Regions from separate parts of the Homo sapiens genome. Here all the other regions are linked to region 3. Evidence: promoter capture Hi-C in human tissues and cell types (Jung and others, 2019). All regions are on one chromosome and are shown on one strand. Each heading gives the region's core, a stretch centred on a gene start or on the middle of the fragment in contact. The rest is flanking DNA. Distances are from core to core; before and after follow the strand shown. Region 1 overlaps ADARB1 (adenosine deaminase RNA specific B1). Region 2 overlaps PCBP3 (poly(rC) binding protein 3). Region 3 holds the start of PCBP3 (poly(rC) binding protein 3). Region 4 overlaps COL6A2 (collagen type VI alpha 2 chain).

Evidence for each region. Contacts are between HindIII fragments. The study calls those that stand out against the background at their distance.
Region 1: a contact is called between a fragment that was not itself captured here and the fragment with the promoter of PCBP3 in region 3, in 1 of the 25 tissues and cell types used here (dorsolateral prefrontal cortex).
Region 2: a fragment that was not itself captured here is called in contact with the fragment with the promoter of PCBP3 in region 3 in 3 of the 25 tissues and cell types used here (H1 embryonic stem cells, IMR-90 fibroblasts and lymphoblastoid cells).
Region 4: a fragment that was not itself captured here is called in contact with the fragment with the promoter of PCBP3 in region 3 in 1 of the 25 tissues and cell types used here (dorsolateral prefrontal cortex).

What each region holds. Positions count from the first base shown.
Region 1 is chr21:45,214,388-45,217,539 of GRCh38, reverse strand. The region is part of intron 9 of ADARB1 (adenosine deaminase RNA specific B1); the gene reads right to left. Among named protein-coding and RNA genes, the nearest start is that of LINC00334, 18 kb to the left of the region's middle. The HindIII fragment of the contact is 3,297 bases long and covers 1-2,917 here.
Region 2 is chr21:45,898,806-45,902,075 of GRCh38, reverse strand. PCBP3 (poly(rC) binding protein 3) reads right to left here. Exons shown (of 18, transcript NM_001384156.1): 7 at 2,454-2,477; 8 at 1,453-1,485; 9 at 963-1,079. Among named protein-coding and RNA genes, the nearest start is that of PCBP3-AS1, 64 kb to the right of the region's middle. RefSeq lists an enhancer at 3,241-3,270. The HindIII fragment of the contact is 8,314 bases long and covers 1-3,270 here.
Region 3 is chr21:45,642,404-45,645,406 of GRCh38, reverse strand. PCBP3 (poly(rC) binding protein 3) reads right to left here and starts at 1,682. Exons shown (of 18, transcript NM_001384156.1): 1 at 1,539-1,682. RefSeq lists silencers at 1,028-1,167, 1,488-2,477. The HindIII fragment of the contact is 13,348 bases long and covers 1-3,003 here.
Region 4 is chr21:46,101,165-46,104,380 of GRCh38, reverse strand. All of the region lies in intron 1 of COL6A2 (collagen type VI alpha 2 chain), which reads right to left. Among named protein-coding and RNA genes, the nearest start is that of COL6A2, 4.7 kb to the right of the region's middle. The HindIII fragment of the contact is 3,224 bases long and covers 1-2,950 here.

The DNA of each region.
Region 1 (3,152 bases), core at 20-2,519, 430 kb after region 3:
CACATGCAAAAGTGTCTGAAAACAATACCACAAAGGTTGGGAATGGAAAAACGAAAGTATCCTGTTGTAAGGTTCTTTTACTATATGTGAAGTAGTATAATATCACTTGAAGGGAGATCGTGGTAAGAATGCATACTATAAACCCTAAAAACCACCACCAAATTAACAAAAGTTACAGCTCAAAAGTCAAGAAGGAGTCAAAATGGAATCATCAAACACACCCAATTAAGGCAAAAGCAGTAAGAAAATGAGGAAAAAGTGAACAAAGAACATATGAAACACGTAGAAAATAAGTAGCAAGATGAAATTTAAACCTAATAATATCAATAATCACAATAAATGTAAATGGTCTAAGTACCTCAGTGAAAAGGCAGAGATTGTCCATGGTGGGAGAGAGAAGCAAGATCCAAACATATAAATATATATAAATATATGTCTATAAGAAACATATTTTTAAGATAAAGTACTTTAATATAAAGGGATAGAAGATACACTGTGCTAACACTAATCAAAAGAAAGTTGAGGAGGTTATATTAATCTCAAAACAAATTTCAGAACAAACACTATTACCAGAAATAAAGAGGGTCATCATATAATGGTAAAGGAGGTCGGTTTATTAAGATAAACCAACAATCCTACATTTTTATGCATCTAATCACAGAGCTACAAAATACAGGAAGTAAAAACTCTAAAAAAGGGGAAGAAATAGATAATGTACAATTATAACTAAGAGATTTTCAATCCTGCCTCTCAATAACTGATAGACCAAGTAGAAGATCGGTAAGAATATAAAAGAAAATAAATAGTATAATCAAACAACTTGGCCTAATCAACATTTACAGATCACTCTACCCCAAAGTGGCAGATTCACATTCTTTCAAGTTTTGTGGAACACTTATAAAGATAGATCATATTCTGGTCCATAAAACCAAGTCTAATAAATTTAAAAGGACTGAAGTCATTAAATGAAACTAAAAAACCAACAACAGAAAGATCTCTGTAAAATCCCTAGTATTTTGAAACTAAATAGCAGACTTCTAAATAACCCAAGGGACAAAGTATTTTAATATAAGTGAAAATGAAAACATATCATAATTTTTAAATGCTACAAAAGCAGTAAAAAGGGTCTTAAAACAATGACCTCAACTAGCACCTTAAAAAACTACAAAAAGATGGGCAATTGAAACACCAGGTAAGCGGAAAAAAAAGAAATAATTAAAATCAGAGTAAAAATTATTGAAATATAAAACAAAAGACAAAAATCACTGAACCTAAAAGTTGGCACTTAGAGACAAACAGAATTGAAAAACTTCCAGCTAGACTGATCAGAAAAAAACAACCAAGAGAAGATACAAATCATCAATATAAGGGATAAGACGATATCATTAGAGATATCACAGATATTAAAATGAATATTCTGAATGCTTTTATGCCAATATATTAGACAAATTAGATGAAATGGACAAATTCCCTGAAAGACAAATTACTGAAGCTTACTCAAGAAAAAAGATAAAAACAGATAACATGAATAGCCCTAAATCTATTATAGAAAAATAAATTGTAGTTAGAATTTTCTTACAAAGCAAACTTCAGGCCCAATGGTTTCACTGGTGAATTTAACCATATATTTAAAGAAATAATACCAAATCCAAACAAACTCTTCCAGAAAACTGAAGAGAAAGAAATGCACCCCAACTCATTTTATGCCTGACAAAGACATTAAACTAAAATGATAGCCCAATATCCCTACAGACAAATATAAATACAAAAATTCTAAATGAAATTTTAGCAAACTGAATCCAACAATATATAAAAAGAATAGCACATAATAACCATATAACGTTTATCCCAAGATGCAAAGTTGGTTTAATTTTTTTTTAACGTCACCACTAGCAAACTGAAAAATGAACTAAATGCTCATCTCATTTTTTGTTGTTGTTGTTTCAGATGGGGTCTCACTACATTGCCCAGGATGGCCTCAAACTCCAGGGCTCAAGTGATCCTCCTGCCTTAGTTCCCAAGTAGCTGGGACTATAGGCCTAAGTCACTGCAATGACAACAGTCATCTAAGAGCAGAAAAAAAGCATCAGACAAAATCCAGCATACATTCTTGATTAAAAACGCTGAGTAAGCTATAAATAGAAAAAAAAAATGTCTTGAGCTGATAAAGACATCTGTAAAAAACCTACAGCAGCCAGATATGGTGGATCATTCCTATAATCTCAGCACTTTGGGAGACTGAGGCAGGCGGGTTGCTTGAGGCCAGGAGTTCAAGACCAATCTGGGCAACATAGGAAGACATTGTCTCTATAAAAAATTTAAAAATGAACCAGGCATGGTGGCATGCACCTGTAGTCCCAGCTACTCAGGAGGCTGAGACAGGAGGATCACTTGGGCCCAGGAGTTTCAGGTTACAATGAGCTATGATCACGTTACTGCACTCCAGCCTGGGTGAAAGAGTGAGACCTTGTCTCTAAAACAAAAAACAGCAATAAAAAATCCTACAGCCAACATCATACCTAATGGTGAAAGACTGAATGTGTTCCCCCAAGATGACATGTAAGAGAAGGATGTCTGCTGTCATCACTTCTACTCAACATTGTACTGGAGGTCCTAACCAGTGCAATAAGGATGTAGAACTGATGAGTGGACTATAAAATTGCTATGGAAATACAAAAAGGACCTAAGCAGCCAAGACAACTTTGAAAAAGTACAAAGTTGGAAGACTAACTCTACCTGACCTCAAAACTTATAATAAAACTATAGTAATCATGACAATGTAATACTGGCCTTTAGACAAAGAGATTAAAGGCAAACAACAGAGTCCAGAAACAGACCCACATGTATATATACATGCCAGCTGATTTTTGACAAGGGCACAAGGCAATTCCATGAAGAAATGAGGAACCTTTCACTAAATGGTGCTAAATCAACTGGATATCTTACATGCCAAAAAATGAACTTCAGTTCATCCTTCATACCCTACACAAACATGAACTCAAGTGAAATATAGTCTTAAATGTAAAAACTGCAACTGTAAAATTTCCAAGAATATAAGAAGAAATCTTTGTAGTACTGACTTAGGCAAATATTTCTTAGACATAATATCAAAAGCATGATCCATCAAAGAAAATTTCTATAAATTAGATTTT
Region 2 (3,270 bases), core at 83-2,582, 260 kb before region 3:
TCTCCTCTTCTCTCCCACTCCCAAGCTCCCCCTCCTGCCTGCCTTTGAGTCTCTGCCAAGCACAGAAGATGGCGCCGACCCCCACCATGGCCAGCTTTGGATAATAAAGAGCCTCTGCCCATTCTCCCTTGGAGGGGTCTTTGTTTATTCCCACAAAGTGCACCTCATTACTTAATGGTCACTCCTCAAAGACACTAAATGCATCTCTAACTTCCAGCAATTTCAAGAAAATTAGAAACACATAAAGACATTAAAATTTCATTCAATGACAGAATACACAGAAGTGCTGCTCTCTCCCCCTCGCTCTCTCTCTGTCTCTGTCTCTCTCTCTTTCTGTCTCTCTCTCTCTCATCTCTCTCTCTCTGTCTTCCTCTCTCTCTCTCATCTCTCTGTCTCTCTCTGTCTTCCTCTCTCTCTCTGTCTCTCTCTCTGTCTCTGTCTCATATCCACTATCACGGATGGCCTCTACCTTTACCGTCCGTATCTCAGCAAGGCTACATCAGCTGTCACGGGGGCCCCAGAGGCATGGTGCTGTGTGGCTGAGGACCAGGGCTGTGCCAGCCAGGGCTTCATCGAGAGCCATGTGGCAGAGCTGGCTGGAGGCTGGAGGTGCTGGTGTGGCCCAAGGGTCAGCCAGGCTGCACGCCCCAGGGGAAGGGTGGGGTGTTCTGAGGCCGTGCTCGGTGCCCCAGGGCAGGGTCTGGGGAAGCTGAGGGAGGTGGACCTAAGGCATACAGCCGGGAGTAGCTGGCTTCAGAAGGATGGAGAGACACTGGCCCCTGACTGGGTGAACCAGAGCTGCGGAGAGGCCCTGGGAGGCAAAGGAGGTGAGCGTAGTTATGGGGTTGCCTGGGCGGGCTGGGGCATCCCCTAGTCCAGGTGTAGGGGAGAGGACCCAGGGAGCCAGCTGGGACCAGGCCTGCCCCCGCCAGGCTGGCAGAGGTGCCTGGGGTGCAGGTTACCTCCTCAAACTTGTATGCGATCATGGCAAAGGCCTTGAAGATGGCGTCTGTGGGGCCTGTGATGGTCACAATCCTCTCTGGGCAGTTTCCCTCTGAGATGTTGATCCTTGCACCACTCTAAGGTGAGAGCAGAGAAACCCCAGCGACCTGATTAAAACCCTTGGGCCAGTGGGTCGGGGGCCGCAAGTCCGTTGACAATTGACACAAACACATGCCTCTGTCCGCTGACGGAAACCATGAATGAACAGTAAAATGCTTCTCAACAATCTCCTTTACAATGAAATTTTAACTAGCAAAAGGAATCCAACAGATTCCTTCCCCACAGGGGAGCACAGGAGGCCTGAGTAGGGGAAAAGAGGCCCCGCACTGCACTCCCCACACACCCCGGCTGGCCAAGAGCACAGGCAGGACGTCGGCAGGGGCAGAGCCTGGGGACCCACCCCGCCCACCCGGGAATGGCTGCGGACAGGTGGGGACCCACCACACTCACCTCCTCACGCATCTTCTTCACAGTTTCTCCTTTCTGGAATAAAGATTTAGACAATAAGGAAAAGGTATCCCTCTGGCTCTGAGGACGGCGCGGCCCATGGTGGGTGGGGAGCAGCCTGGCCCATACGCCCACACAGCAGAGCCTCCTGCCTGTGCTGGAGGAGCAAACCAGCCTCTCCACTAAGAAGGCCAGGCTCCATGCCCACCACACCCTGGCAGACATTTCAGATGGGAAACTGAGGCCCAGGAATGCAAGTGCACCCACCTACAGGCACACAGCTGGCAAGGGTGGCGCAGGTCTGACCTGACTCCCCATGGCAGCTCACTCATGGCACATGGCAGTGTGCGTGCCCTCAGGCGCCCCGCATTGCCGGCTACACTCTGGCTCAGCCTCCCGGAGGTGGTGACTCTCAGAGACGCGCCCTCTCAAGCGTTTGGGAGGAAGCCGGGACAATGAGCTACTAGAGGCGCCCCCATGGTGGGACTGAGGGGAAGGACCCCCGGAAGCGGTGAAAATGTGATGAAGACAGGGAGGTGGCCCTCACTGCTCGGCCTCCCGGGGCAGCAGGCTTCCAAACTGGGCCTTACTTCCCCCGGGCCAGCCCTGATTTGGAAAGGAATTGTCTGGGGGCTGCTGCCTCCACTGGCACTCCTGGAGACCACCCAGACTACACAGCCGGCTGAAGAAGGCGTGAGAAATCATTCTTCGTGGGGTCTTCAACCGGGAAAGAAGGACTGGCCACCAAGGCCACGGGCAGGGGGCAGCGAGGTGACCAGCTGGAGTGAACCCCTTCCCCTCAGGCCACGCAGAGCCAGGGACCAGCTTCAATGTCATACAGCATAAAGGCGACACCTCTGGGGTCCTGTCTTCATGGAACACAGACCACCCACCAACTGGGAAAGGCGCACCTACTGGGTGCCACCTAGTACCCAGGGAGGCTGCCATCCTCACCATCCCCTTACAGAGACCCCAGGAGAGGCAGAGATTCAATCAATAATTACCTTCCCGATGATGCTTCCAACTTCCTGCAAGAAAAAAAAAATCACAGAAAGATGATGTCATAGAGCAGGAGGAGGAAAACACTGGAGGCAGACACTACCGAAACCTGCCTACCTTCCCGGTATGAGTGCAGAAGGGACCTTCCCGGTGTGCATGAAGAAGGGAGAATTCAGAATCTGCTGGTGGGGAGGGGTGTGTGTACAAGCCAGGCTGCCCATACAGAGGCCCTGAGCCGGGTCTTCCTTGGCGCCCACCTGACCAGGACAGAGATGGGCTGACTGTAAGTGCCCCGGGGGAGGGCAGCTGGCTGCCCCTGATAAATAACTCAGGGGGCATCACCCATGCACTCAGGCTACCAGGAAACTCTGGAAGAAATGTGTGAAAAATAAAGCCTCCTTCAATTGTGTGACTTAAAGAAAACTTAGCACTGCAATTGCTCCGTGACTCCTATTCCAACGGCAGCCTGTTAAAAGGAACGCTGGAAGATGCTGCCACAGTTCTGATGGCGAGCCCAAGGCAGTTTCGGGACACACGTTCCCCGCTGGGCTGAGTGGCCCAGTATCTCCCTGTCCAGCAGCGGGACAGAGCTGACAGGTGCTACTGTGGCCTGTCACCTGAAGCGGGGCCAGCAATGGTGACGTCGGTGAGGCTGTGAGGACGGCATGCAGAGGGGCCCGTGGAGGGAGAGGGAGGCCGTGAGGACGGCGTGCAGAGGGGTCTGTGGAAAAAGAGGAAGGCTGTGAGGACGGCGTGCAGAGGGGCCCGTGGAGAGAGAGGGAGGCCGTGAGGACGGCGTGCAGAGGGGCCCGTGGAGAGAGA
Region 3 (3,003 bases), core at 433-2,932:
GAGTCCATTTTTTTCAGTTATAAAGACCCCATTTATCATCAAAACTTTTTCAAAACCTTATAATATTATCAACTAAGAAAATACGTGAAGCTACGTAAGTTCTAAACCATTCGTAATGAACTTGCACTGTATAAACAACAGCATCTACATACAAGCAAAAAAAAAAAATACTGCTCGAAAGTGAGACATCAGTTAGTCGGTCACTGCACTTGTTAGTTTTAAGGCCCCATGTTTTCTGACAGATCTCCAAGCCTGAAAACACCAGAACTATTTCTGCTTCTGTCGTGTGATGATCAATTAGGTCCTTTCAGATCTTGCAAATGATCCCTTTAGAGTGCCACTGTTCTACAAACACTCCTTTTGGGGCCAAAATAGGTATCTCTGACACGCTTTAAGATGATGAATTATTCTTGAATATGAGGAGGACTGGGAGTTAGTTCTCTTAAATAGGGAAGCACCCTTGCACACTCCTTTGGGATCCACATCTGAGAAAGTCCAAAGAAAAGAAAAAGGGCAACAGTTTGCCCCTGAAAGTGAGTTCAATTTCAGAGGGATATGTGAGGGCCTGTGCCAGAGGAATATTTTTGAAATGGGGGGAGTCTATAAGTTGCCCAGTCTAATCTCTAAAGGCCTCTCCGCAAGGCCCTGCTGCTCAAGATTCCTTCTGGCGAATCCCACTCTACAAACACTCAACAACTAAGAGTGCTACTGGCTCACATGGAGGGCTAACAAGACCTGCAAATCCAGGCTGCTCTGAAGGACGGTGGAAGATAACCAACCCCGAGCCACGAGATTTAGGACCCGACTTTTGGTTAACTTTCAAATTTCTTATGCCAGTAATATACTTCAGAGTGGCGCGGAGGGAATTGGAAAACATCACCAGGCAAAAAAAAGAAAAAAACTCTTTCACGAAACAAGACTTCCAATTAGAACACGTGTGGGGACAATAAGAAACACGTTCTAACCACCCCCAAAATTAAAATAAAACACAGCGAGCAACAAGAGAGACCTGCGCGCGCCCCACCGCCCGCGCGCGGCTCTCCGCAGGGTCACCGAGGGGTGAGGCCGCGCTCTCCCGGCGGCCGTCCAGGGGGAGGAGGCCCCGCGCCCCGCCCCGCCGCCCTCCAGCCGCCGCGGCCGCTCCGGGGTGTTCCCCAGATCTCTTCTCAATCAAGAGATGAAATTTGTGCCGTTTTGAAACTGAAGCCTCAAGTAGTCCAGACGTTTTCTGACCCACATCCGAGACGTTCTCGGCTTCCCGCCGCAACTTCCGAATTTGGGGAGGGGGCGGAGGCGGGCGGGCCAGGCCTGGCGACCGCACCTTGAGGGAGCGCGAGTCCCCTCGCTGCCCCGGGCCGCCGCAGGCGCCGGCGGCGGTCGGGGACGGCGCGACCCAGCCCGGGACCCCCGCCCGCCCCGGCTCGGGCGAAGTTTGCCGCGGCCCGGGGTCGCCCCGTCACTCGGCCTCCGTCGGGGACTGGGTCCCCGTAACCCGCAAGGGCGCCCGACCCCGACCCCGCCCGCCACCGCTCACTCACCTGCCCTGCGCCGGACGGCGAGCCCGCGGGCCGGCGGGGAGAGGCCGGGAGGCCCGGGCGGGGTCGGGGCGAGGCGGGTGAGGAGGCGGCGGCGGAGCCTAAGTCAGCCGAAGCGGCGGCGACCGCGGCTGAGGCGGCTGAGGCGGCGGTCGCGGCTTCAGGCGCTCCAGCCCGAGCGCTGCGCGCGGCGCGGGCCCGCCCCTCTGCGCCGCTAACCAATCTAGCGCCGCGCGCCGCCGCCGGCCCCGCCCCCGCCCAAGGGCAGGCTCGCGAAAGCGGGCGCCGCGGGCCAATGAAAGGGCGGAACATCAACCGGCGCGGCCAATCCGAGCCCGGAAAGTTCTCTGGAAAAAGCCAACTCCAGTCAAAGGGGCGGGGGTGGGGCTGGGGGCGGGGCGGGGACCTGGCCCAATGACGCGCGGGGCGGGGCCGAGCATTGGGCGGGGAGGAGGCGGGGCCTCGAACGGGCGGGCCGGTCACTAGTAGTGGGCGGGGTCGTAGGCGGGACATTGAGCGGGCGGGGCAAGAATCGGGGCGGGGGCCTAATGAAGTGAAGCGGGGAGGGGACGGGCAGTGGGAGGGGCAGGTCACATTTGGGGTGGGGTGGGGGCGGGGCAGGGGCGGGGCTGAGTACGGGAGGCCAGGCCGGGGAGAGGCCTAAGTCGGGGCGGGCGGGAGAAGGGCAAGAGCAGTGGGCGGGGCTCGGGGGTTAGGGGATTAGTGCCCTTGCTGGGGCGGGGCCCAGGCTTGGGGCGGGCCTGTGGTGGGCAGGGCCGTGGATGGGCGGGGCGAGCCTTCGTGGGCGGGCCAGGCCTGTGGTGGGCGGGGCGGGCCGTTGGTGAGCGAGACCTTGGTGGACGGGGCGGATCCGCGGTGGGCGGGGATTTGGCGGGCGGGCGGGTGGGCCCGACGGGACGGGAATGGCCGTTGAATTCCCAGCCGTGCCGCAACCCCGAAGGTCCCCCTGCAGCGCCCGCTTCCCGTTCTCTGTGGGCCTGGCCCCGGCCCGGAGGCTGGGGCCGCAGCGCCCGGCGGGCAGGGGCCCCGAGCGGCTCGTGAGCCTGTGCCCAGACGCTGCCCGCCCCGCGCTGGTCCCGCCGCCCTGTCCCCTCCGCCCGCCCGGCGTTCGCGTGCCGTGGCCTGGGGCGGGGCGTTGCTGGGCCCCGGGGGCTGCAGGGGGAGGCCGCCCTTTCTCTGGGCTGGCTCCGGGCTGTTCCGCTCCGCGCCGTTTTCCCGGTACTTCCCGCGGAGCCCGCCTCGCTGTGCGTCCCCGCCCGGGCGTTTCTTCCGCGGCGCTGAGCGCCCGCCCCGGCCTCGGGCAAGGGCAGCCGGACGCCCCGAGGACCAGGGCGCTGGGGCCGAGGCGCGTCCTCCGCAGTCGCCGCGCCTGGGCCCCGTTTCCCCGCGGGTCCTCGCCGGGGTGGGAGGCGCCTCTTGGCGTCCGTGGGGAGCTGGGTGTGGGGGG
Region 4 (3,216 bases), core at 89-2,588, 460 kb before region 3:
TGTACTTTTCAGCTCCAGAATTTCCCTTTGGTTTCTTTTTAAAATTTCTAGCTTTTTATTGATATTTTCATTTGTTCCTACATTTTCTTTCACTTTCTCCACATTTTCCCTTAGTTATTTGAGTATCTTTAAGATAGTTCTTTCAAAGCCTTTGTCTAGTAGATCTACCACCAAGTCTTTTTCAGTGACAGTTTCTGTTGTTTTTTTTTCCTTTGAAATAGGAAAGTTTCTTTGTATGCCTTGTGAAATCAAAATCTCTTTCTTCCCCAGAGTTTGCTGGTTTTTCTTGTTTTTATAATTTTGATTGTTGCTGTCTCTGTGCTAAGGATCAGCATAAAGTATAAACTTAAGGTCTTCTTAGGTCTTTTCTAAGCCCGTGACTTCCCCTGAGCATGTGCAATGACTTTTTTATTTTCTCCACATATATGGTTGCTTTTGAATGTGCTAGTCTTCAATGTCTACGTCTCAAAAGAGGAAAAAGAGAAAAATGAAGGGAGAAAAGGGTGCCAGCCCTTTAAATCTCCTGGAAGTCACTTCAACCAGACGGAGAAGGGCTTGCAATGACGGGGTTAGTTGCAACAACAAAGTCTGTGTCAATAGATTTTGAAAGATCTACATCATACAAGATATCTTTTCAGACCACAAAGGAGTAAAGTTAAAAATCAGCAACAAGGACATTTAAAAAATCACGAAATTAAACAACACCCTGTTAAATAACCAAGGATCAGAGAAGAAATCACAAGGGAAATTATAAAATACTTAGAGATGAGTGAAAATGAAAACACAAATTTAAAAACTTGTTCGACAGTGAAAGCAGTGCTAAGGGGGAAACTGATGGCTATACATGCTTATATTAAAAAAGACAGGTCTCAAATAGGAGCTTAACCTTACAATGTAAGGAACTAGAAAAAGAACAAGCTAGCAGAAAGAAGGAAAAAATAAAGATCAGAGCAAAGATAAACAAAATGGAGAACAGACAGATAATAGAGAAAATCAATGACAACAAAAGTTGGTTCTTTGAAAAGATAACAGAATTGACCAGCCTTAAGCTAGATTCTAGACTAAGAAAAAAAGAAGAAACTCAAATTACTAAAATTATAAGTGAAAGTGGCAACATTGCTACTAATTCTACAGAAATAAAAAAGATTATAAGAGTGTACTATAAGCAACTATATGTCAACAATTTGAATAACACAGATGGAATGGAAAAATTTCCAGACAGACAAAACCTATCAAGACAAAATCAAATCATGAAGAAATAGAAAATCTGAATAGACATAACTAGTAAGGAGATTGAATCAATACTCAAAAATCTCCTGACAAACAACCTCTGGACCTGATGGCTGCACTGGTGAATTCTACCAAACACATAAAGAACTAACACCAAACCCTCCCAAAATTTTCAAAAAACTTGAAGAGAAGGGAACACTATTTAACTCATTCTTATGAGGCCAGCATTACTCTGATACCAATACCAGACAAAGATATTGCAAGAAAAGAAAACTACAATCCAGTCTTCCTTATGAACATTGATGCAAAAATCCTAAACAAAATACTATTAATAGTAAACTAAATTTGGTATAATTTGATGCAATTAAATGGAATTTAATGAATTGACCAAGTAGGATTTATTTCTGGAGTGCAAGGATAGTTCAACATACAAAAAAAAAAAAATCAATCAATGTAATACACATTAACAGAATGAAGGAGGAAAAAAAACTCACACATGATCATTGCAGTTGATGCAGAGAAACCATATGACAAAATTCAATACCCTTTCATGATAAAAACACTCAACAAATTAGGAATAGAAGGAAACAACCTTAACATAATAAAAGCCATATTATACGAAAAAGCCACAGTGAACATCATACTCAGTGGTGAAAGACTGAAAGCTTTTCCTCTAAGGTCAGAAATAAAGGAAGGATGCCTGCTTTCACTACTTCTATTTAACACTGTACTGGAAGTTCTGGCCAGAGCAATTGGGCAAGAAAAAGAAATTAAAGGCATTCAAATTGGAAAGAAATAAGTAAATTATCTCTGATCACTGATGATATGATCTTGTATGTAGAAAACCCTAAAAATTCCACAAAAACTGTTACAACTAATAAACAAATTCAGCAAAATAGCAGAATACATAGTAAACACATAAAAATCACTTGTATTTCTATTCACTAACAATGAACAATCCAAAGGAAATTAAGAAAACAATTCTATTTACTATAGTATCAAAAATAATAAAATACTTAAAAATTGACTTAGGAGGTGAAAGACCTGTACAATGAGAACTACAAAACATTTCTGAAAGAAATTGAAGAGGACATTTAAAAAAAGACATTCATGTTCATAGATTGGAAGACTTACTATATTAAGATGTCAATACCACCCAAATTGATCTAGAGGTTTAATGTAATCCCTATAAAAATCCCAGTGATTGTTTTTTTTTTCAGAAATAGTGAATAAATCCTAAAATTTAGATGGAATCTCAAGGGACCTCGAATAGCCAAAAAAAAAAAAAAAAAAAAAAAAAAAATCGTGAAAGATAAGAACAAAGCTGGGGGACTCACATGTCCTAATTTCAAAACTTACTACAAAGCTGCAGTCATCAACAGTGTGGCACTGGCATAAAGACAGACATACAGACCAACAGAATAAAACAGAGAGTCCAGAAAGAAACCCTTGCATATATGACTTTCAATCAAGCCGTCAAGACCATTCGATAAAGACAGTCTTTTCAACAAACGGTGCAGAGACAACTAGATATCCACATGCAAAAGAATGAAGTTAGACCCTTACCTAATACCATATACAAAAATTAACTCAAAATGGATCTTTACGTTTTAAGACCTAAAACTTTAAAACCCTTAGAAGAAAACATAAGGTAACACCTTCGTGACATGGGACTGAGCAATGATTTCTTGGGTATGACAATAAGAAAAAATAGATAAATCAGATTACACCAAAATTTAAAAACATTTTTTGCATCTATCTAGTGAAAGGACATCATTAACAGAGTAAAAAGAACCCAGAGAATGAGAGAAAATATCTGTAAACTGTGTATCTAATAAGGGATTAATATCCAGAATATACAGAGAACTCCTAAAATTCAACAACAAAAAACAATCAACTTGATTCAAAAATAGGTCAAGGACTTAAACAGATATTTCTCCCAAGAGATATATAAATGGCCAACAAGCACATGAAAAGATGCTCAAC